2 separate regions of the Homo sapiens genome follow, and region 2 is linked to region 1. The links are contacts of gene promoters, found by promoter capture Hi-C in blood cells and fetal thymus (Javierre and others, 2016). All regions are on one chromosome and are shown on one strand. The core of a region is centred on a gene start or on the middle of the fragment in contact, and the rest is flanking DNA. Distances in the headings are between cores, read along the strand shown. Region 1 holds the start of CNOT3 (CCR4-NOT transcription complex subunit 3). Region 2 holds the start of ZNF865 (zinc finger protein 865).

Evidence for each region. Contacts are between HindIII fragments. The CHiCAGO score rates a contact against its expected background, and 5 or more counts as called.
Region 2: a contact is called between a fragment that was not itself captured here and the fragment with the promoter of CNOT3 in region 1, in 1 of 17 cell types (naive CD8 T cells). The highest score is 5.3, in naive CD8 T cells.

What each region holds. Positions count from the first base shown.
Region 1 is chr19:54,132,489-54,139,651 of GRCh38, reverse strand. CNOT3 (CCR4-NOT transcription complex subunit 3) reads right to left here and starts at 1,890. Exons shown (of 18, transcript NM_014516.4): 1 at 1,659-1,890. The HindIII fragment of the contact is 20,819 bases long and covers 211-7,163 here.
Region 2 is chr19:55,603,920-55,611,256 of GRCh38, reverse strand. It overlaps ZNF865 (zinc finger protein 865), which reads right to left and starts at 5,610. Exons shown (of 2, transcript NM_001195605.2): 1 at 5,525-5,610. RefSeq lists a silencer at 5,342-5,841 and enhancers at 5,885-6,436, 6,437-6,988. The HindIII fragment of the contact is 2,248 bases long and covers 4,188-6,435 here.

The DNA of each region.
Region 1 (7,163 bases), core at 641-3,140:
CGAGAGGGGTCCTCAGCCTTACGGTGGGGACACATGCAGAGGCGTGGACACCTCAAATCCAGAAAAGCAGCCATACCAATACCAAGGATGGCAAGAACCTTATCCCTGGGGGAGGTGACACCAAGAAAGGGTCCTTACCCTGGAGAGAAGGCACAGCCCCAGAGGGAAGAGCCCCCACCTCGCAGTACAGGAACCCGGGTCTAGGAAGCTTCCTACTCTCATGGGGTACCAGCAGCGGGGCCAGAAGGCGAAACCCTTGTTCTCCAACTGCTGACACCCAGCGTAAGGGTAGATGGGAAGTCAACAAACCCACAGTGTGGGATCTGATGCAAATATCAAGGGCAGTGGGCTTCTTGGTCCTTGGAGAGCTGACACCCTAAAGGAGGAGACTGGTGTGAAGATGGAAGAAGCCTCATACTCAGGCAGGGGTGAAGGGAGGGAGGGGAGACATCAAAACCCCTCACCAAAAGGACAGGAGAGCTCACCCCGGGGTGGGTGGCCGCCCTGCACTGAGAGGCAGGGACTGCTCAGAAAGAGGGGCTGGTGCTGCCCGCAGTGGGAGCTCACTAACATGGACAGCGTGGCGGCTTAGTGTCTTTCACCAGGCACCTGAGCGCCAGGGGATCCCAGCAGCCCCCAGCAACAAGACCACAGTGGTCCTGATATCACTGGGAGACGCCCACACCCAGAAGGTCGGAGAGTCACGATGCAGGGGAGTTCAAGGCTGCAAAGCCAGGGGCAGACGCCAGGATCAAAGAAGTGTGAGAGCTGAGACCAGACGTGGGCCACACTGAGGACGGTCCTGTACCCCAGGTGGGGGAAAGCCAAACTCCCCCAAAAAGGCAGGCGCCCAGTGCAGCGGGATGGCGAGGCTGGAGCCACCCAGGGCGCTACTCGCTATGAGAGGGAAGAGCTGCAGACTACAGAGGTGGAAACTTCGGCAAAGGCTCCAACTAACGGGGAGTTTCTCCTCCACTCCTCTCCCAAGAGGCTCCCATCCGATACAGACGGGCAGCTGGAACCTGAGATCCAGGGGAGGCTGCGCTCCCGGGAGCAGTGAGGAGGGATGCGGAGGGCGGCCTCGGTCCTGGGAAGGGTGACTCCCCCACCCAGCTGGGGTCCTCGTCCCGACCACCACCCCCCCTCCCCGCCACCGTCGAGGGAGAAGCCCCGGCGCGGAGGCTGCCCCACAACGCGAAGGACCGAGGCCGAGGGGGGCAGGCACCTGAGCCCCGAGAGGGCGGGCACCTGGGACCAGGGGCGCCTCCATCCTTCCAGCCAGGAGCCAATACCGACGCGGAGAGGGGCGGGCACCTCGCGCCCGGGAGGCTTCGCACCCTCACACCCCTACCGGGGGGCCCGACGCGATGCCACGCGGGGAGGCGGCGGCGGGCGGGGCCCGGGGTCCGGGTCGCGGAAGGACCCCCGGGAGGCGCTGAGGAACGTGAAAGAGGCGCAGGAACGGGAGGGCGAGAGGGAGGGAGCCGCCCCCCGCCGGGAGCCCCGCGCTGCAGAGGCGGCGGCAGGGGGCAGGCGAGGGGAGGCCATGTCGCGACAGACGGCGGTGTCGCCAGGGCGGGAGGCGGCGGGGAGGGCGGCCGATGGCGCCGGGGGGAGGAAGGGAAGGGGTCCGGCCCAGTCGAGCCTGACGCTCTCACCACAGGAGCTGGCGCCGCCGCTGAGGAGCGTATCGCGACAGGCGGGGGAGGCGAGCGCCCGCCGCCTTTTTCTCGCGCCCCGGGCCCGGGCGCTATCGCGATAGCGGCGCGAAGCGGAAGTGGGGTTGGGGGAGTGGGCCCGGGGTTGTTCTGACGACGGGGGTCGGGGCTCAAGGGAGGCCGCGGCGTCTGCCGATGGCTCCGCGGAAGCTGACCGGGCCCGGTCCAAGATGGCGGCGGCGGAGGAGGCCTCCCCTCCTCTCTTCTCGTCTCTGGCGCCGACCCGCCCCCGAGTCCCGAATATAGGCCAGTCATTGCTCCCGCTGAACGTCGCTCCTGACCCTTGGAGGCTTTCTATTGGTTCCTGGCAGGGATGCGCCCTGCCCCCTTTCGCGGATTGGGTGATCGCTCCAAGGCGCGGCGTTCGATTGGCCTCCCGCGCAGGCTGCTAGGATTGGCTCAGGTTTTCCTCCCCGCTCCTCCTCCTCCTCCCGCCTCAGGGCACAACACGCCAGCGCGAGGACCCGAACGTCAATCAAGAGACCTGTGTCGTGCTGATTGGATGTATCCGCCCCCCTCTCTTAAAACAATTGGTCTGGGGGAGGAGCTACGACAGTCCAGGGGCGGGAAGTCGTCCGTCAAGTTTAGAGCTCTTTTTAATTGGTTGCGGGGGCATATTCTGCCTTGAAGTCATTGGTTGGTCCTGGAAGTGGGTGGGGAAAGCGGAGGAAGGCATGGAGTGTGGGCGTTAGGGGCCGCGTACCTAATGGGAGACAGACAGGTGCCTTTAAAGCGGGGGCCGAGCCGAAGTCATCTGCCAATCAAAACAGCCACAGGGCCAAGTGGGAGGAGCTGGGCAAGAAAGTCCACCCCTTTTTCTTCGTTGGCCCTAAAAGTTATCATTCATGCTAGTTGGACCAATAGCGTGGCGAGTGGGCGGTAGCTGCTCGTAGAGCGTGTGAAAGAGGGTGTATGTAGCTGGCAGAAGTGGGACTTGGTCGCAACCGTTGCGTCCCGGCCAGGTAAGCAGCTTCCCTCTCAGCTGCCTCGTCTTTCTCCAAGTGCCTCTATGTTGGCACATCTCTGAAATTCATTATTTGCTGAGTGAAAGAAGAAAGGGACCAGAGACACTGCTTTAAGTCTCTGGCACCGTGCATAGCAGAATTGGTTGGGAAGCGTGAGGCATGGAGTTTTTGTCCTGCCCCTGCCTGGTTAGGCGACCAGATGGTGGGACAGTCATTCTCCTCTGCGTCTCCGCTTCCTTAGTGTGTTGAGGACGCTGCAGAAGGTACAGAGGAGACGGGTGGCTCCCTAATGCCTGCTCGTTTCAGGTCTCAGCTCTGTTGTCTTCTTGGAGAGAAAACTTCCCTGACCTCCCTCCCGGGCGGAGCGCTCCTGCGCGCCTTGTTCGTTAGGATTTATTTTTGTACGTCTACCGTCATTTTCGTAATTATTCGGTTTCCCTGTCTGGATTTTGCATCTCCAGCACTTAGCACGCAGGAAGTAGTCAGTAACCATTTGTCAAAGGAATAGATGAATGAATGTGAGGAATGACTTGTGATTGAAAACTTAACTAGACACTGAGACTTCCACGAACTGGGAGGCATTTGCCCAGGGTCACACAACCGAGATGGGAAGCCAGATTCGCCCCTTCCTGTCTAGGTGGTGGAAAGTAAGATAAATCCCAGGGAGAGGTGAACGTGAAGGAGGATGGAGCCGTTCAGCACCACCCGCATCAGAATGGTCTGAGGCAAGGGGGAGGAGGAATGCTTGCGAAAATGCATATTCGTAGGCCCACACACAGACAACGGGAATGAAGCCTAGAGTTATTGTTCTAGAGCTTTGCTATTCAAACTGTGGCCCCTGGACAAAGTATCGCTTCTCAGACATCTCCGGAATCACCTAGGAATGTGTTAAAATGCAAATTCTGCTTTTCTAACAAGTGCCGCAGTCCACGGTCCGCAGTTCACTTTGCACACCGCGGATCTAGCGATGACTTTCCAACTTGGCTGCACATCAGAGTCACCTGAGGAACTTGTTGTTATTGTTGTTGTTGTTGAGACGAAGACTTGCTCTTGTCCCCCAGGCTGGAGAGCAGTGGCACAATCTAGGCTCACTGCAGCCTCTGCCTCCCGGGGTTCAAGTGATTCTCCCGCCTCAGCCTCCCGAGTAGCTGGGATTACAGGCGCCCGCCACCACGCCCGACTAATTTTTGTATTTTTAGTAGAGACGGGGTTTCACCATGTTGGCCAGGCTGGTGTCGAACTCCTGACCTCAGGTGATCCGCTCGCCTCAGTCTCCCAAAGTGCTGGGATTACAGGCGTGAGCCACTGCGCCTGGCCTACCTGAGGAACTTTAAAAAAAAAAAATTTTTTTTAAATTAGAGGCCAGGCCGGGCCGGGAGAATCACTTGAACCCGGGAGGCAGAGGCTGCAGTGAGCCTAGATTGCGCCATTGCACCTGTAATCCCAGCACTCTCAGAGGCCGAGGTGGGCGGATCACCTGAGGTAGGGAGTTCAAAACCAGCCTGGCCAACATGGTGAAACCCCGTCTCTACTAAAAATACAAAAATTAGCTGGGCATGGTGGCATGTGCCTGTAATCCCAGCTACTCGGGAGGCTGAGGCGGGAGAATCACTTGAACCTGGGAGGCAGAGGTTGCAGTGACCCGAGATTGCGCCATTGCACTCCAGCCTGGGTGACAGAGCAAGACGCCGTCTCAAAAAATAAAAATAAAAAATAAAAAAGTCCAGATACCCAGGCTTACACTGGACCAACTAAAACGATCTTGAGGTGGGAGCCAGTGTCTCTCTCACCCAGGCTGGAGTGCAGGGGCGCCATCTCGGCTCACTGCAACCTCTGCCTCCCAGGTTCAAGCCATTCTCCCACCTCAGCCTCCCAAGTAGCTGGGATTACAGGCGTGAGCCACCGCGCCCAGCGTAAGAGCCGCTTACAGAGTCTTCTTTTCTAGAGCAGTGCTTCTGAAATGTGGCCTTGGGTCAGGCACGTACCCATCACCTGGGAACTTGTTTGAAAGGCACATTTTTGAGCCCCACCCTAGACTGAATCAGAAACTCTGGGCCCAGCAACTATGTTTTAACAAGTCCTCAGTGTAATTCTGAAGCGCATTAAATTCTGAGAACCTCTGTTCTGAAAGTACGAGGGCTGCAGGCCCAGGCGACTCAAGATTCCTTTCCTGAGATTGACACCCTCATGCCACAGCCCCATTGGTAGATGCCGGATATTTTGGCCAAGGGAGATGGGGGATTCTGAACAGGGTTGTGGACCACGGGTCCTTCCCTGGCAGACCAGTATGTAGAGATCAGCAAAGGTTGTCATTTTCAAACAGGGTTGACCCAGAGGGTCAGGGATAACATTGAGAAAACAGACTTGAGTTATACAACCTGGGGTAGTTCAGCCACTCAAGGGAACCTCCTGAGTGTGTCGACTTTTTGACTTGAGGAAGGAGAGAGATTTAGAGATTGCCACTGAGGTCCAGAGACAGAGCTCTGGGTTGAAGGACAGGGATCCAGAGATACACAGAGTGGTGACGGGGAGGCCCAGAGAGGGGAACAGAAAGAGCAAAATCTCAGACAGGACCTAGAAAGTCAGAGGGAGACCCAGATAGCATGAGCTGGAGAGAGGGAGGGAGAGAGAGAGAGGGAAGGTGGAGAGAGGGAGGGAGAGAGGGAAGGTGGAGAGAGGGAGGGAGGGAGGGAGAGAGGGGAGGTGGAGAGAGGGAGGGAGAGGGGAGGAGAGAGGGAAGGTGGAGAGGGAGGGAGAGGGAAGGTGGAGGGAGGGAGAGGGAAGGTGGAGGGAGGGAGAGGGAAGGTGGAGAGAGGGAGGGAGGGAGGGAGAGAGGGAGGGGAGGTGGAGAGAGGGAGGGGAGGTGGAGGGAGGGAGAGGGGAGGAGAGAGAGGGAGGGAGAGGGGAGGTGGAGAGAGGGAGGGAGGGGGAGAGGGGAGGTGGAGAGAGGGAAGGTGGAGAGAGGGAGGGAGGGGGAGAGGGGAGGAGAGAGGGAAGGTGGAGAGAGGGAGGGAGGGAGAGAGGGGAAGGTGGAGAGAGGGAGGGGAGGTGGAGAGAGGGAAGGTGGAGTGAGGGGAGGTGGAGAGAGGGGAGGTGGAGAGGGAGGGAGAGAGAGAGGGGAGGTGGAGAGAGGGAGGGAGAGAGAGAGGGGAGGTGGAGAGGGAGGAAGAGAGAGAGGGGAGGTGGAGAGAGGGAGGGAGAGAGAGGGGAGGTGGAGAGAAGGAGGGAGAGAGAGAGGAGGTAGAGACCTGGAGGCATCATCTTCCCACCAGGCTGCTGCTTGTCCTGGTAACATCTCTTAGGTAACTAACAGAAGCCCGACCTTGTAGGTCAGGTGACTAGCGCTGCCTCCTTAGTACCACCGTGTAGCCCAGCTCCGGAGCACATAGTAAATGGAACCCCTGGAGTTGCTCTTCCTTAACCTCTCCAGGGAGACGGTTTCATGCCACCCGCTAGGACAGCCCCTGCTGTCCCCTGGAAACTCTCCTGACTGTCTGCAGGCCACATTCCCCTCAGTCCAAGTAAAGGCGCTCCTGGCCGAGCCCCGGTTCCCGAGACTCAGTGACTGGAGGTCAGGGGAGGGGAAGTGTGCTCCTTCTGCTCACCTGGCAGGACTTTTATAGCAACCAGGTCCTACCAGGGCAGGAAGCCTGCCTGCTTCGCCTGTGCCCGGCTCCACACAGTCCCTCAACACTGGTTATAAATAAGAGGCTGGGCCAGGCACAGGGTAATCCCAGCACTTTGGGAGACGAGGCAGGCGGATTAGTTGAGGTCAGGAGTTCGAGACCAGCCTGGCCAACATGGTAAAACCCCATCTCGGCCGGGCGCGGTGGGTCACACCCGTAATCCCAGCACTTTGGGAGGCCGAGGCGGGCAGATCACAAGGTCAGCAATTCAAGACCAGCCTGGCCCAAATGGTGAAACCCCGTCTCTGCTAAAAATACAAAATTAGCCAGGCGTGGTGGCGGGCGCCTGTAATCCCAGCTATTCGGGAGGCTGAGGCAGGAGAATCACTTCAACCTGGGAGGCGGAGTTTGCAGTGAGCCAAGACCATGTCATTGCACTCCAGCCTGGGTGACAGAGCAAGACTCCGTCTGAAAAACAAACAAACAAACAAACAAACAAACAAACAAAACCCATGGGCGCCTGTAATCCCAGCTACTCAGGAGACTGAGGCAGGAGAATCACCTGGACCCGGGAGGTGGAGGTTGCCATGAGCCAGGATCATCCCACTGCACTCCAGCCTGGGCAACAGAGTGAGATTCTGTCTCAAAAAAAAAAATAATAATAATAATAAGAGGCCAGACACAGCGGCTCAAGCCTGTAATCTCAACACTTAGGGAGGCTGAGGTGGAAAGCTCACTTGAGCACAGGAGTTCAAGCCCAGCCTGGGTAATAGAGCACGACCCTGTCTATAAACAATTTAAAAATGGGGCTGGGGTGGTGGCTCACACCTGTAATCCTGGCACTTTGGGAGGCT
Region 2 (7,337 bases), core at 4,062-6,561, 1.5 Mb before region 1:
TCCTAGAGGCCCGCCACGGTTCTAAGCACGTTACACATATTAATTCACTGACTCCCCACAACTCTAAATAGGGGCAGCTGTTCCCGCCGTTGGATAAATTAGAAAACTAAGGCATGGAGAGGCAAAGTGAGTTGCCATGGTCACGGAGTAGGAGTCTGGATCAATGGGCTTGAACCCCATTCCCACCCTTGCCCCCACAGCAGTGTTTCACTGGGCTGTTCCCCGAGTGAACAAAGGTGAGGGGAGAACTATCAGGATAAGAGCTTTATTTAGGGATGTCTTCTGGGTTATGAGGGGTGTCTATACAAGGGGCCTGGTGGGAGAGGGTGGTGGTTACTTTCTCTTCTGCCTACAGTGTTCTTCGCCAGATTTCAACAAGACTCCCTCTGGAGCCTCCTTGGGTCTCTACTCAGCACTCCCCACCCCATCACTCTCCAGTCCCTCATCCAGCCGCAGGTGTTTCATTATAGTTATTGCCACCAACTCATGTCATTCCTTTTCTGTGTGTTTACTGTTTGGCCCCTCTCTAGGAAAGCAAGGACTTGGCCTGTCTTGCTCGCCCCTGTGACCCCAGCACTTAGCGTAGCACTGGCCCAGTGTGGGTGCTTGACAAATATCTGCTGGTATGTGAAAAGGAAACACCACCTTCCTAAATTACCAATGGGTCCACAAAGAAATCATACATTAGAAAATGCTGGCCAGGTGCGGTGGCCCACACCTGTAATCCCGGCACTTTGGGAGGCCAAGGCAGGAGGATCACCTGAGGTTAGGAGTTCGACACCAGTCTGGCCTACATGGCGAAACCCCGTCTCTACTAAAAATACAAAAATTAGCCAGGCTTGGTGGTGGGCGCCTGTAATCCCAGCTACTTGGGAGGCTGAGGCAGGAGAATCGCTTGAACTCGGGAGGTGGAGGTTGCAGTGAGCTGAGATCGTGCCACTGCACTCCAGCCTGGGCAACAAGAGCGCGACTCCATCTCAAAAACACAAACAAACAAAAAGCAAAAAAACTGCTTAGCAATTAATGAAAATGAAAACACAACATACCAAAGCTGAGGAGGTGCAGCCAAAGCAATGCTCAGAGGGAAATGCACAGCTGTGAATGTCTATCTTGGTATTTGTGGAATGAACAAAGCGATGAGACTAAGCTGATCAAACTCCCAGAGGAACGGAGGGGGACATGTAGCAGAAATGGAGCTAAATGATCCCAGGAATTCCTGGGAGAAGCAATTCTGGGGACAGTGATGTTATGAGGAGGGCACTGAGGGCAGGGTGTGGAGATGCTGAAGGGGATACATCAGTGGTGGACAGAATTGATCAGGCTTATGATAATCTCCACTAGGAAACCAGAAACATTCCCTCTTTCATACAACTCAAGCCTAAACTGGTATCTTTTTAAGAGGGGATGTCATAGGAGGGTTTTATGCAGAGAGAAGCATGATGGGGAGGGACCCACCCCTCCACCACCACCACCAAGGGACAGGAGTCCCACAGCAAGTGTATTAACGGTTCACATTTATTGTTTGACCAGTTTGATATTTGTTATTGCCTGGAGGCAGCACAGTCCTGTACCATGACTGGGCCCATCTTATAAGTGGGGAAACTGAGGAGCAGCATGGGGAAGGCATTCCTCCAAGGTCATGTGGCCAATAAAGAGGAAAGCAGGTAACTGATTCCAGGTCTTTCTGATGCCAGACTGTGGGCCGTTCTGCTGCAACAACGCTGCCTTGTGATGAAATTCTGGTTTGTTAATAAAGAGTAACGTGCGCATATAACACTGGATGTGTGCTTTCTACCAGCCCAGCACTCTTGTAACTCTGATGTGTGTGAGCTCAACGAATCCTCCCAGTAACCCTAGAAGATGGTTACAAGCATTGACTCTGAAATACAAAGGAAGAGACTGAGGGCCAGAGAGATAAATTAAACTTCCAAAGTCAGGCCAGGCATGGTGGCTCATGCCTGTAATGCCAGCACTTTGGGAGGCCGAGGTGGGTGGATCAACTATAGTCAGGAGTTCGAGACTAGCCTGGCCAATATATAGTGAAACCCCGTCTCTACTAAAAATAAAAAAATTAGCCGGGTGTGGTGGTGCACACCTGTAGTTCCAGCTAGTGGGGAAGCTGAGGCAGGATAATTGCTTGAACCCAGGACACAGAGGTTGCAGTGAGCTCACGCCACTGCACTCCAGCCTGGGTGACAGAGTGAGACTCTGTTTCTCAAAAACAAACAAACAAACTTCTAAAGTCACATTGTTAACTAGTGGCAGGGCCAGTGGTTGAAGAAAGGCAGCAAGGCTCCAGAGTCCCATCACATGCTGTCTTTCGGTATTTCTCCCTCCAAAATGAAGGAGGACCCCCGCCCCCAATCCCACTTCATACTGGAAACATGCATTGCTCCACCCATCTCCCTGCCAACAAATCCCAAGTCTCTTGGCTTGACCCAAGACCAGAACAAGTCACCAACATTTGTTGACCTCTAACAAGCATTGTACTTAGGTGCCTTATGTGGCTTGTTTCATTCAAACTTCACAACAAATGTGTTATTATTATTCCCATTTTACTGACAGGAGGACTATAACCAAAGCATGTCTATCCTCGGTCCCAAACCAAACAGTAACCCCATCTCATTCAAAAGCCACAGTCCTGACTGGGCACGGTGGCTCACGCCTGTAATCCCAGCATTTTTGGAGGCCAAGGCAGGCGGATCACCTGAGGTCGGGAGTTTGAGACCAGCCTGACCAACATGGAGAAACCCCATCTCTACTAAAAATACAAAATTAGCTGGGCGTGGTGGCACATGCCTGTAATCCCAGCTACTCGGGAGGCTGAGGCAGGAGAATCACTTGAACCCGGGAGGCGGAGGTTGCAGCGAGCTAAGATCACACCACTGCACTCCAGCCTGGGCAACAAGAGCGAAACTCCTTTTCAAAAAAAAAAAAAAAAAAAGCCACAGTCCTTACAATGACCTCCACAGTCTCCTGGCTGCTCTTCCCATGTGCCCACTCTATTCCTGCTGCAGGGCCTTTGCGCTGGCTGTTGCTGTTGCCTGTAATATTCTGACTCTCAGGCAACCATCTCGCTCACCCCTTCACCTCCTCCCCATCTTTGGTCAACTGTCTTCTCAATGAGCCTCTCAGTAACCAATGACCTGTCACCCAGGCCCACATCCTCATCTCCCTAACCCTGCTTCATTTCTCTCCTTACTGCTCAGCATCATTTATAACCTCACATAATCTACTTCTTTGCCTTGATTTTGTTGGTCTCCCCATCCAGATGATCGGCTTCCTGAAGGCAAGGATTTTTATCTCTTGCTCACTGTTCCATCCCCAGGACCTACAACAGTTCCTGGCTTGATACATTTTTGTTTGAAGAAGTGAATGAATGAGGCTAGGAAAGGAGGGAGTGATTTGCTCAAAGCTGTGAACCCTAGTGGAATCCAGGGCTCATCCTCCCAATCACTTCGCTCCTGGGGTTAGGGCGCTGTTAAGAGCAGCCCCCAAGTGGGCCACAGTTGTCCAGGAGAAGGGGAATTTTTACTCTTGTATAACTTTTTGGTGTGTGGCTTTTGGGAGGGACAAGATGACAAGACATAGGAAAATCCTGGGGGAGGCCATCCTGAACCACAGCCCCCCAGGTCTATCTCTTTATCCCGTGATATTCTGAACACGCACATATACTCTTGGTTTTTGTTTTTATTTTTTTTCACTGCAGCCTCGAACTCCTGGGCTCAAGCAGCCCTCCCACCTCAGCCTCCTGAATAGCTGGGGACTACAGGTGCCCACCAACCACACCCAGCTTTTTTTTTTTTTTTTTTTTTTTCCTGTAAAGACAGGGTCTCACTATGTTGCCGAGGTTGGTCTTGAACTCCTGGCCTCCAGCGATCCTCCCACTTTGGCCTTCCCAACTGCTGGGATTACAGGCATGAGCCACCTCGCCTGGCCTGTATTTTGTCTTTTAATCATCTGCCCCCTCAACTAGCATATCCACTCCATGAGGACAGGGATTCTTGTCTATTTTGTTCTCTGTTGTACCCCCAATGTAAAGTAGGTGCTCATTAAACAGTTGTTCAACCAGTGTTTACGAATGAACGTATGAATGAATGAAGAACATTCTGGGCTCGGTAGAGCTGACAAAGGCTAGATAATTTATCCCAGTGCCCTCACCTCCAAAGCCTTTTGAGACCAAAGCTTCCTTCCTCTTGTTCTTGCCTTCAAATCTTCCACTCCACCCTCACCGGCCTCCCCTGCTGCTCCTCCACTCACCGTGCTCACCGCCACTTCAGGGCCTTTGCACTTGTTGTTCTTGCTGCCTGCTCACCCAGATCTTTGCATGGCTAAGCTGCCACTTGTAATTCAGCTTTCACCTCTAAAGTAGTTCATCAGGCTCTCAGAGAACCCACAAAACCCCGTGTATCTTTGTCGACTCGTGTCTGATCAACTAGACTGTGAGACCCCGCACAGTGAGAACACTGTGTGTATCGACCCCCTTCGTGGCTGTATATTATACCCTTCAGCTAGAATAGTGAATATGCGTTCAACGCAGAAGGAATGCCTACGAGAAAAGAAGTCACACCCTAGTGAAGTCCAGGGTCTTCCCTAGGGAGTCCAGGACGATAGCCTGAGAGCTGGGTGAGAAGCTGCAGGTCAGGGCAACAGTTGTTCACGCCATAGGAAGAGGATGAGGCACATTCTGGGAAGGAAGGCTTCACCGCCTCACTGCGGGACACTGTTCTGTGGCAGAAGTAATGAAGACGGGCTGACCGCGATGAGGGTGGGGTGAGAGGAGGTACGGGAGTATGTCATGGGAGCCTGGAGCTAAGCAGGCGGATATTTCTACCTGAGGCGGGAGAGGATGTGAGTGTGAAGGAACTCTAGAGGGAGCTGTGCCGCTGCGATGGGGGGGTGGCTTTGAAAGGGGCATTCTTAAGGGGAATCACTGGAGGACCTGCAGAAGGGAAAAAGGCATTCTTGGTGCTGACCAGAATAGAAAGTATTTTCACACCCACGAAGGGGCGTTCTGCTGGGGAGGGAGGTGGTCAGGGCCATTGGGGGCTGTTGCTGTATGGACAGAGATAACGGGGGACAGTTCTGCTGCAAGGCACTAAGGAAACACTCTGGGGAGAATTATATAGAGGATACTAATAAGAGGGTTCACGAGCAGCTGCCCTACATGGGGAGGGGCAATGCTGATGGCATCTGGAGGCTGACCTGGAGGAAGCAATGACGGGGAGCGCTATGTGGAGGGGATCCTACGAGGAGGTATCATTTGGGGGCCCTGGCAGCCGTTTAGGGGATCGCCACGAATGAAAGCGCTTTGGCAGCCATCCTAGCTGGGGGCGTTCATGGGGGAGCTATCTGCAGTGATCCTACCGGGGAGCAGTGATTGGGGGTCCCTTGGCAAGGGCCCGGCGGGAGCTGCACTGACTTGCTAGGGGTTGGGGGACGTTCTGGGGACCACAGCGGGCCAGGGCGGGGCCCCCCGCCCCCGCTGCACCCGGGCCCCCGGGCCACGCACCCCGTCACTCACCGGCGCCGGGGTCTCCGCCGGGAGGAGGCCGAGGAGGCGGAGGAGGCGCCGCCGCTCCGGGGAGACCCGAGGGCCCGACCGGAAGTGCCGCCCCCTCCCCCCTCCCCGGCAGCCCCGCACCGCCCGCCTGCCCGCCCGCCCGGAAGCGGAAGTCGCGCCCGTTCCCGAGGCGCCGGCGTGGAGGATCGGAAAGAGGAGGCGGTGGCGGGGACCAGGAGGGGGGAAATGCGCTTGCGCACTGACTCGGGGACGCGAGCAGTGAAAGCCCGGGCCGATTCCGGTGGGCGAACTGAGCCAGGTGCGCCTGCGCTTTGAATGCCCGCCTCTTCTACGGGAACCCCGCGACACGCTCTGGGCGTCCGGTTAAGCCACACCTCCGGCTCGGGTCTCACACTGAAGCCCCGCCCCCTGGCCCTGAACCACGCCCATCTCACAGCGTGATTATAAGCCCCCTACTGCCTCAAAGTCTGTCTTCGTCCCCTCGCCCTCATGCAGTTTCTCCTGTTCTTCCCCCTCTCCAAGCTCCCACTCTCTGGAACTTCACCCCTCCCTAGGCCCCGCCCCCTCCATCCAAGCCCCGCCCCTTCACCCCATAGCATTTAAGTTGCACCTCGTGACTTTTGAGTGCCTCCCACCTCTAAAGCATTCTTTTAAATCGGTGGTTGTCAAGGATAGTTGGGAGGCCAGCAGCATCCGGCTGCCTGCTCAGACCATGCGGAATAGAAGCCCTGGGGTTGGGGGTCTAGGGATCCGTGTTTTGAAATACTCTGATTCTGCTGCATGCTGGTCAAGAGCCATGGATTTACCACACTTGACACTGCCCGCTCATATAATCGCTATAATCCCGGCTCCCAACTCAGCCCCATCCCAAACAGCCAAACCCAGACCCATTCAGCCCCTCCTGCTAAGCTTCCACTCTCCCAGGAACTTCCCTTAGATTAAGTACTTCCTTCTCTCCCCATCGCCTCCATAGCAGTCGTGCGCCCCCATCAGCACCTTCTAAGTCCCACCTCCAATACCCTGTTCCCTCAGAGTTTCTCCTTTAAGCCCCGGCCCCCGGCCCTCGGCCCTGAACCACGCCCACCTCAGAGCTGAATTATTATAAGCTCCGCCCCTCACCTTAAAATCCGTTCTCTTGGCCTGGCGTGGTGGCTCACGCCTGTAATCCCAGCACTTTGGGAGGCCAAGGCAGGCGGATTGCTTGAGCACAGGAGTTCAAGACCAGCCTGGGCAATATGGCAAAACCCCGTCTCTACAAAAAAAAAAAATACAAAAATTAGGCTGGACGCGGTGGCTCACGCCTGTAATCCCAGCACTTTGGGAGGCCGAGGCGGGTGGATCACGAGGTCAGGAGGTCAAGACCAGCCTGGCCAAGATGGTGAAACCCCGTCTCTACTAAAATTACAAAAATTAGCCAGGCGTGGTGGCGGGCGCCTGTAATTCCAGCTACTCGGGAGGCTGAGGGAGAGAACTGCTTGAACCCGGGAGGCAGAGGTTGCAGTGAGCCAGATTGCCCCACTGCACTCCAGCCTGGACGACAGCAAGACTCCGTCTCAAAAAAAAAAAATTAGCTAAATATGCTGGCGCCCGTCTGTAGTCTCAGCTACTCCGGAGGCTGAAGCAGGAGGGTCGCTTGAGCCTGGCAGGTCGAGGCTGCAGTGAGCGGTGATAGGGCCACTGCACTCCAGCCTGGATGACAGAGCGAGACCCTGTCTCAAAAAAAAAATTATCCGTCCTCCTTGCCCCACTCTCACGCAGTTCCTCCTGTTCTTCCCCAGCTCCAAGCCCCTACTCTCTATTAGATCAACTCTAT